2 separate regions of the Homo sapiens genome follow, and region 2 is linked to region 1. Evidence: promoter capture Hi-C in human tissues and cell types (Jung and others, 2019). All regions are on one chromosome and are shown on one strand. The core of a region is centred on a gene start or on the middle of the fragment in contact, and the rest is flanking DNA. Distances in the headings are between cores, read along the strand shown.

Region 1 (5,128 bases), core at 1,351-3,850:
TATAGTACCCTAATATAACTCTCAATCTCTACCTACTCCAAAGTTATACTTAATTACACATGAATAATAAAGTTATAATAATACTGCTCTTTTCCCTCCTATTCATTTTTAAGAAAAGGAGAGCTAGTATACCATTTGGCGTTAAAGAAGAAGACTACAGTTGGAAAACGGATCTTTTCTAAAGGTGTGAATATGCAAACTAAATTCCCTGTATATGAGTTTCATAAGCATGAAAGTTCACTTCTGCATTTCTTCCACAAATATTTACTAGGCCTTAAGAATACAAAGAAGAATAAGACATAGTGGTCTCCCACCCTCAATAACTATGGATTAACCTCAGCAAATATTATTTCAATCCTGATGACAAGCAGTACTCTGTTCAATTCCAACCAATACATAATTTGGGGCAATATTATGGTAATTTTTATAATCAACAATGAATTATTTTTATTATTAAAAGTATATGGTAATCAACTCAAGGTTTATGTATTGGGGTTGTTATCCACTCCTACTAGTTCACGAAGTAAAAAAAAAAAAAAAAAAAAAAAGGACTAGGTCGCTAGTTATTCAGTTTGAATGACTCATGCTGGACCATCACAAATCTTCTTATGGAATAGACAGTAAGAGAAATCCCTGAGAGTAAATTGGACTCGATTCAACTTCTGGGAAAAAGAGAAAGGGAGAGGCGAATTATAAGCAATATGGAAATAATCTGTATTTACTAGTAATATTTCTTCATTTCTTCACCTTATATTTTTCTCTTCCTAAATTAGAAAAGGATTCTTTCTCCACCTTTCTCCTTTCTCTTTTCCTGTCTTGCTAAATCATGAAGAGACTTTAGAAGGGAATAGAAAATCTGATGGAGGTTTAGATACCAAACTTCCCCTATATCAAAACTAATCATACCCAAGTATAGGAGGGCTTCTCTCTGTAATTCAAGGCTGCACTTTTTGTTCAGGAGAAAAGGTGGCATGTATACTCGTGTTTAGATATGAATAGCACATATTTTTAAGTTTATCATTCCACCGGTTTTCATTTCTATTTTTAATGCCAAATTCCAGAAAGCCCACATTTTGGCAAGCATGGTAGAAAGCACTTCATTCCCTTTCTGGTTCCTCAATTACTGAGGTGCACCACTCTTCATCCAGGAATAAACTCCACTAAGTTCCAATCTCTTATACCTGCACCTCTATTCTCCTAGAAGATGCTGCCGATCCTGTTCAAACTCATTTGAGAGCAAGAGTGTCAAAGAGCTGGGGAGAGCTACCCCATCTTTTTTGCCACCAACTTTTACACAGACTGGTCCAGTTCTTACCATACAATTTCAAACATGCTTATACAAAGGTCAGAAAGACCTTTCCCTTGTCTATTTTACTGTGAGCATATATCTATTGCTTTCTGCTCTGAGGCATAACAGAGAAGGAAAAGGATGTTTTCACTTAATTATTAACATACTTTCAACTTCAGGTTTAAGGAGGTAGGCATATGAAAGTAAGCGCTTAACTTCATATCCTCCCACAGGACAGGAACAAAGGAGAGCATAACATTTCCCTAGAACCAGAAATTATTATGGATTGGGGTCAACTAAATTCTTTATAGGCACTGGTGACAGCTGCGACCTTAAAAGTCTTCCTTCATTTGGGAAAAAAAAAATCTTAACCATCTATTATACCAAACTTAAGATAATCATACACTGAGTTAAAAAAAAAAATACTCTCCACAGCTGACGCACATTACCCAGTGGGAAGGGAAGCCACGCACATCGCACATTTCCCTTTTTAAAGTACGTCTAGCCAATTCAAGAGTAACACAAAACATAGAGTCTAACAGCACATTATTAAACTTCCTCTCGGTATAAATCAGTTTAAAAATGAACATACACTTTAGAAAACAACAAAACACTAAACTTGTGAAGCTCAGAAAGAAGCCAGGAATATTCCTTTTAAATATGTTCTCGGTGGTTAAGAGGAAATGTCCGATGATGTCATCCCTAGATACTCCCTAGTGATGAACACTAACTACTGGTCCTTAAAGGGGGACCATTTTCCTGCAAACCGTGGCGGTCGCTGAGCTTTGCTCAAAGATTCTTTAACCAAAGTCAGGGAAGAGGGGTGTTCGCTGTCTCGGGCTAGAAATCAGGGAAGAGCGCTGGTCCCCGGGCCCCCAGCCCCGGCTCCCAGACCACAGGCGGCCAGGCCTGGGGCGGGCGGGGAAGGGCCTGGGAGCGGCCCAGCTGCACCTGCTCCTCAGGAAGCCGATGGCCCGGGGGCGGGCCGGGGTCTGGGGGTGGTTGTCCCCCATCGGGGCACAGCCCGGCCTCTAGCCGCCCGGTAGACTCCCCGCCCCCCACCTCGCCCCGGTTCCCGGAGGAAAAGACAATACATTTTAACGCCATTGGAGCTGCTGCTGTGCTGCGGCTGCTGCTTCTCCGCCTCCGCGGGGTGCGGCTCTCGCCGCGGCTCGCCCGGCGGCTCTGCGGGCTGCAGGTGCGGGCTGTCGCCACCAGTGGCCCCGGGCACCTCGGCCTTGTTGGCGTCCGCCATCCCGCCGCCGCTGCCTCCGCCTCGGCCGCCTGAGCTGAGGGGCTCCGAGCGCGACAATGGCGGCTGCCGGGGAAGCGGTAACGGATCCCGATTTGAAAAGGCCCCGAGCGCTCAGTAACCCGGATCTCGCGAGAACCGGTCGAGACTGGGTGACTGGGAGATGGTGTGTGCCGGGTGCGGGGGGTGGGAGTGCGGGGGGAGGGGAGCCATGGGAGCTGGGGTCAGGGCCGCTGTTGCTGCAGTCGGCCCTACACCTGCCTGGGAGGGCTGGACCAGTCCTGAAAGCCCCCGGTGGTGGTGCCATGTCTGCCCACCAGCCCGCCTGTCGCTTGGCACCAGTGGAGTCTTCGCTTGCAAAGCGGGATTAGACATCAAAGCCCTAACACCCAGACTGTTCAATTCATTCCAGGTAGGGGCAGTTAAAGAACACACCACTTTGCATCTTTAAAGACTTCTTGCAAGTCCTCAGACTGCCTTTAGAAATCCTTTGAATTAAGCAAATATAAGTCTCTTGCCATTTCAATGCCTAGGCACCCTTCGGACATTCCATAAATAGTTATTGATGACTGATTGCAATTCACCAAAAGGAATGACTTTGAATTTCTTTGAGAATTATTTGTTCTTAGGGGGTGAGGATTTCCCAGGAACTCAACTATCAGCTTAGTAAGAGAAGACTGCAGTTTTTCTCTGGACATCAATCAATATGGGGAATCCATAATTATAAAATATCGTCTACTAGATGGGCTAATAATGGACATTTGAGGTTTTGACTGTGTGTTTATTGTATACTGATGGAAATTCTAGTGAAGTAGTTAGTTATACGCTCTCAAATTTAATTGCCATATGGAGTTTTAAAATACAGTCGTAGATTTTTCCCCCTAAGTATGAAAAGGAAACCGTTAAATTTAATCAACTCCTAATTCTCGAGTACTATAATCTTTCACATTGACATAACCTTTTTCAGCTGAAAAGTTTAAATGCCTTCCCAAATTTTTTTTCCATGAAGAAGCAAACACGTACAGTTTAGTCACTTTGCAGAATATCATACACACATCAGTGGTAAAGTTATAGTTAGAAAGTAATACTCAAATAACATAATTTCATCTTCGGCTTTTCAATGTGTAGTTTCCTACCCTCTACCGAAAAATACCAAGTTCAGCTACTTCATCACACACACACATACACACACACACATACACAAACACACACACACATAATCAGAACATTTTAATGATAAGAATGCTATTGTAGTTGCTGTATAAATTGTTTCTCATTCAACTCTGAGACATAAGATTTATAATCGCAGAAAGGGCATTCAATTGTGACAGACAAAATCTGGGTTAGAACCCCAGCTCTGCCTCTTTTTGCCCATAACTCCCTGGGCAAGTCACCTCATTTCTCAATCTCTCTACAATAAATAGGGATAGCAATACCGACCTTACAGGATTGAGGTGAGGATTAAAAGAAAGCACTTTATGTAGGAAAAAGTGCTATATGAACATAATGTAATATTACAATTCTCTATCTCCCTAAGCTCAGCAGGGTTTTAGTCAAAGACAAGCCAAGTGATTTTTCCCACAGCACTAAATTATAAGTACTTTCAAAATAGTCATCATTCTGTTATTCTTTTGCTATTGTTGAATTCAGTATGAAAATTGAACCCCACCATCACCAGTACAATATATTCTTGCAAAAATCCTTTAATCAACTCAATGCAAGATTTTTTTAAGAGGCCTTTATGCTTCAAACAGAGTAGTAGGTACATGAGGAATACAAAAATGAGTACAGCCCTGTTGGGAGAGGGCTAATGTAAAAAGTACTATTTAAGTGCTATAATACAAATAAAAGCAAAGTATAATTAAAAAATTATTTACAAAAACAGGAGACTGGCCCACATGCCTTAGTTTGCCAATTAAAATATTCCATTAAAATATTTATCTTGATTACTGAGTTTTAACTTTTGTACCCAAGACAAATGCCTCACCCGCTGTAGCTTGGTTCTAGTCCTGATAAAGAGCAGAGGTTAATTCCTACTGAGAGATTGGTGAGGGCCTTATAAAAGAGCTGGATCTTAAAAGACAAAGAATTAAGGCAACTTCTGAAGGGAAGAGAATGATTAATCTTTACCATTCCATCTGACTGCTCAATAGATTGATCTTTCCTTCCTTTCTTGCTATTAATTGCAAAAGATAAAGAAAAAACTATTAATATTCTGTTGCTGAATTCCATTTCTGTATTTGCTTGTCTTCCTCTCTACTGTTTTGGTTTGTTTTGTTTTGTTTTGTCTTTTTTGAGATGGAGTCTCGCTCTGTCACCCAGGCTGGAGTGCAGTGGCGCCATCTCTGCTCACTGCAAGCTCCACCTCCCGCGTTCATACCGTTCTCCTGCCTCAGCCTCCTGAGTAGCTGGGACTACAGGCGCCCGCCAGCAGGCCCGGCTAATTTTTTGTATTTTTAGTAGAAACAGGTTTCACCGTGTTAGCCAGGATGGTCTCCATCTCCTGACCCTGTGATCTGCCTGCCTTGGCCTCCCAAATTGCTGGGATTACAGGCGTGAGCCAGAGCGCCCGGCCTTGGTTTTTTGTT
Region 2 (5,128 bases), core at 1,354-3,853, 210 kb before region 1:
TCCACCTGCAGACTGATTTATTCTGCTCCCAAAGAACTTCACGCTATACTTACTGCAAATCAGTGGATACCTTATCTGTCTCTTCCCACTTGGTTAGAGGACATGAAGATCATGAGCCACCAAAAACTGTCCCCACAAATGCACTTTGGGCTGGGCGTGGTTGCTCAGGCCTGTAATTCCAGCACTTTGGGAGGCCGAGGCAGGCGGATCATTTGAAGTCAGGAGTTTGAGACCAGTCTGGCCAACATAGTGAAACCCCATCTCTACTAAAAATGCAAAAATTAGCCAGGCATGGTGGTGCACGCCTGTAGTCCCGGCTACTCAGGAGGGTGAGACAGGAGAATCACTTGAACCAAGGAGGCAGAGGTTGCAGTGAGCCGAGATCAAGCCACTGTACACTCCAGCCTGGGCAACAGAGTGAGACTGCGTCTCAAAAAAAAAGCACTTTGTACCCCATTTTCCCTCATTATTAGATGTGTATCCTGAGCAAGTTGTTTAACCTTTTTAAGTCAAGAGTTTCTCCTCTGCAATATGTAGCTAATGAAAGTGCCCACTCATGAAGTTGTTATTAGTCTTAAATTAGATAATTAATACTGAAAGCTTAGCACAGTGCATGGCAAGTGGCATAGAATAGCCAAAACGGCTGCTGTTGTTACTGTGTGGTTACTGTGCTTGTTCTTGTCGCTATTGATTTCACAAGCACCATAGCCCCAGGAAGCAGAATGTGGGCTCTAGATTTGTATTGCTTGAAGAGTGAATTCTGGTTCCAAATGTTTATTAACCGTGTGTTCCCATGCCTGAGTCTCACTTTCTTCATGTATATGCAGATAATAATGACAACTACTTCGTAGATATTTGAGGATAAAATAAGCTACTTTTGAAGCACTTGGAACAGAACCTGGCATCTAGTATGTGCTTAGTAAATACTGGCCTCTAATATAACAGGCTGTCATAGAGTCCCAACAGGCTTCATTCACAACTGCAGGAAAGATTGAAAGTCAGTGCCCTAGTCTGTGAACTCCTTGACGGAGAGATCATGCACGAATCTTCGTAATTCAACCACACAGTATGCAGAAGGTGCTCAAAATTTTTTGAGAATGAATGAATGAATTGTGAATTGAGTTAACAAATACCAAGTTAAATAATGTCACTTTTTAAGAGGTCACAAATGGAGCAAACTCATTTCTTGAGAACATGGCTGGGAATAAGGAAATGGGACAAATAGATGTTCTGAAAATGGCACATAAAAGCTCACATACTTTATTCAGAGGAATCATAAAATGTGCAAGCTGGACTGGACCTTGGTGATGATCTATTACAGCTCCGTCATTTTGTAGATGAGAAAAATGAGCCAGCCCTCAGAACTGATTTCCTCTCCCTTTATACATCATTCTCAGAAGCTTTGTTATCTGGTTTCCTGGCCAAAGCACAATGAAAGGAGCAAATTTGGAGAGGAAAGGGAGAGAATTAGACCTATGTATACCTATGATAATTATCAAGAAATGAAATTCGGGCTTACGACAGGAAAGCTACATAAAAAGCAGACATAAAAACTGCAAAATCACCGGGGCCTGCAACATTGGCACGGCTGCAAAGGTGCTCACTCCTCAACAGACCCTCAGCACCTGGCTGCGAGACAGCCCCAACCATGGAAAAGATTGCATGATGCTTTATAAAAGCAAGATTTTCAAGAAATTTAACTTTCTTTCATTCCCAATCATTTCTATTGGGGGCTCCTATCTCATCGAGTTGATTAGGAATTCAAATCTCAAGCTTTTATAGTATCCTCCCACCCATTCTAAGGTTCCATCAGAGATTCCAAGAAAGGGTCAATAATGTCAAAACATTGGGGTAAGTGGAGAGCAGGTCACCAGGTCCTGGGCCATGTGCACACCCAGGTTAGTAGTGAGCTCTCTGTGGCTGGCCAGCTCCCCAACACCAGCTGTGGCTCGCTGCTGCTCTGACCTGGTCTTAGAGGGTAAAGATCTTTCTTTACAGTCAGGCTGGGTGCACACTCAATGCCTGTTTCCTTTCCAGCCTCATGATGTCTTTTTGTCCTCGTCCTCTACCTCTGTCCTCGGCTCCCCTGCTTTCGCTCCCTACCTCCTCTTCACTCCCTCCTATCTCCTCTCTCTGCCCAACAGTGCCACTATTTGTAATCTGGGGGATTACCCTTCTTTTTTCATGGCTCTGTATCCCCAAATCCTCTTTCGTTTGCCTACTCTGTGAGTTCTCTGTGTTGTTCTAAAGGCCTCGGTTTGAGGAATACAAAAGCCAGACAGACGTATAGGCTACTTCGGCCTTCCACCCTGACACCTTCTTACTCTGAGACAATGAACCAAAGAAGGCTGACCCTGCTTGGAATGGGGAAAGGAAGAAAGAGAAATGCAGGGAAGAAAAAACTTTGGGAAAGGAAAAATGGATGCACAAAAAATCAAAAAAGGAGTTATTTCAAATGTTATCAAAATGTTATCCCACCACATATGTAACACTAATGCACAGTCTAGTATTCAACAGAGTTTGTGTTCAGTTATCCAGAAAATGCATATCTGTGCAATAGTTTATTCTCATGCATCCTAAGTAAATAAGTACTTATTTATATACTGTAATATGCATGTTACTCTATGCCTATAAGAGCACTGAGCATCAAGTTCCAAACGTGTTGCATGGAACACTCAGTACTCTCAATTTTGACTCAGGAAGAAAAGTCTTCTGTAATCAAAGCAATTTTTAAAACACCATTCTTCTTGGAGATTTAGAAAGTATCTTATAATGTTAAGGAGTCTGAGAAGTCTAAACTTGGTCCTGCCCTATTTGACTGCAGGAACTTGATTGGATTAACATCCCTTGGAACTGATGTTATAAGGAACACACATTAGAAAGATCTGTCTGATTTTCATGCTGATGACCAACTCAAGGTGAAGAAAGGAAAGAAGTTTTCTGTGGTGTGTATTGAAAACAGAGATGCAGATTATGTGAGTCACCACTTCCCAGGGGGCAACAAGCAATAACCCCTGGAACAGGGAGCCCTTATTTTCAACCTCAGCCTGAAGGGTTTTGTAGCCCAAGGCTCTACCTGCCAAAGCTGTCAGGTCCACTTTCTAGTGAGTAGCACAGGGGATGCTGAGGCTCATGTTGCAGAGCCGCAGAGAGTGAGGCCAGAGCACAGGCCCTTGCTTGGAAGTCACCCTCTCTCCAGCCAAGATGATAGCTATTTGGATCTTCCAAAGTCATTACAGCCCATACCTGTTTGGATGCACAAGAAATCAGGAAAAAGAGTTATGTCAGATGTTGGTGTCTCTGGCATTATGTTCAAACAGAAAAAACAGTTATGTGGATTACCTCATCTTCCCTTTGTGCAGGTAGGAAAATGCTCAAACTCAAAAAGAAATGGCAGAATTGTTCTCCGAAAAGTTGAAAGGCAACAAAAACTTATGTAATAATAGGTCAAGAAAGGTGCTAAAATGTTCCAGCAGCTAAAACAGTAAGCTCATCATAAAGTTACAGGCACCAGTTCAGAGCCTCCTGACACATACTCTATATACTTGTAATTTCAGTTCAAGAACGATTATATGGATAGCTCATATGTGTTAATATTTTCCTAGGCACTTTAAGGATCATAAAATACAAAATTCAAACTTTTTACTTTGCCATCTAAGGCTCTTCATGATATAGCCACGGTCTAAGGAACTTGGAACCATATCTTGAGTCTTCCTTTTTTATACCCTATGTTCCAGGTTTAGAAGTATTTCTGCAGTTCCTTAATCTCATTGTATTTTGTTTTGTTTTTCACCATTCCATGTTACGGTGTTTCTGCCAAGGATTCCCTTTTTCTCCTGCCCACACTTCAGTCCATTGAGCAAATTTCTATTTCTCCTCCAAAATGCAAATCAAATATTAGCTCCGTTGTGAAGACTTTGTAGAGTGGCTTCTGTTCCCCAGAGATTTGGTTTGTTTGTCTTCTTGGTTCTCATTTATGTTATAAATATATCTATGGTAGAAAGCATAGTAGAATTTAAAAAGTAAATGAGGTTGGGCTCCTGCTCTCACACTTGGCTGTATAATATCAGGTGAGTTGCCTAACCTTTTTCTATACATTAACTGCCTCATCTTTAAATTGTGAATAATTCCCCCTTCACGTGAAGTTTAAGTGATGTAAGAATAGGTTTTGCACTGTGTCTATTACATATGAACATTCAACCAAATCTTTGGTTATTACATCGTAATTAGTGGTTTTCCACTCTTTGTGCAAGTCTCAATTTGAAGTGCTGCCATATTTGTTTATATTCTTAATTCTTAGCATAGTGTTTGACACACAGTAGGCACTCAGTAAACAGCTTCAATATAACCATTAATTAGCTAATTAATTGACGGAGAGATGAATGGGTTATGTTTCTAAGGGGGCATAATCTCTAGGAAACAAGGCAAGAATAAGGTAATAAACACACTGGGACAATGGGCTCTGAAGGTCAACAAGAGTTCAGAGCCATGAAATGCAAGACAGGCCATGGAGCTCAAAGAAGGCACCTGGGGGAGGTCCAAATGAGCACCTGTAGAAAGGACAGAATTGAGGACATAATTTAGTAGAAAGAATCAGGTAAAGCATTCTAAGCTCATTATACATGAAGGCCCAGAGCTGTTTCAGGATGAGGGAGGCCGATGCATAGTTGAAGTCTTTGGAAGAAAAGATCCACTGGGGAGGGGGATCTGAAGATCCTGGTGATGAGCCGTGAAAGGATGAGAGTGCAGCCTGAGTCCTCAGAGACAGTCAGGGTTGAGGACACAGTGGGAAGCCTGCCCAGTCGGACAGGAAAGCACCACTTTCTCAGACTAAAGTGTGGAAGAAAGAATGGCTTTGGAGGCCAAAAATACATAACATAGAAGGAGAAGGTGGGTAAGAAAGCTCATGTGTTAGATGGACTTGATCTTCTTAGTGACATAGGAAGCAAAATTGTCTTCTGAGCTAGTGGGGATGGGAATATAAAGAAGTGATCCAGTAGACTGGTCAAGAACACATACCCTACCCCCCAGTGTCGAATCCCAGCACCATCACTGACCCGCTGGGTGGCCCCAGGAAAGTTCCTTTAACACCTCGTGACTTCGTTTCCTCATCTGTAAATGGGAAAGA

Evidence for each region. The method cuts DNA at HindIII sites, captures the fragments that hold promoters and counts their contacts. A contact is called where the count stands out against the background at its distance.
Region 2: a contact is called between a fragment that was not itself captured here and the fragment with the promoter of MYEF2 in region 1, in 1 of the 25 tissues and cell types used here (mesenchymal stem cells).

What each region holds. Positions count from the first base shown.
Region 1 is chr15:48,175,695-48,180,822 of GRCh38, forward strand. It overlaps MYEF2 (myelin expression factor 2), which reads right to left and starts at 2,601. Exons shown (of 17, transcript NM_016132.5): 1 at 2,383-2,601. The coding sequence starts at 2,543. It also overlaps a transcript of CTXN2 not described here. RefSeq lists silencers at 1,943-2,112, 2,143-2,572, 2,743-2,842 and an enhancer at 2,545-3,196. The HindIII fragment of the contact is 10,011 bases long and covers 1-5,128 here.
Region 2 is chr15:47,965,718-47,970,845 of GRCh38, forward strand. The region is part of intron 1 of LOC124900354 (a long non-coding RNA gene); the gene reads left to right. The region is part of intron 2 of LOC102724553 (a long non-coding RNA gene); the gene reads right to left. Among named protein-coding and RNA genes, the nearest start is that of LINC01491, 120 kb to the left of the region's middle. The HindIII fragment of the contact is 4,615 bases long and covers 297-4,911 here.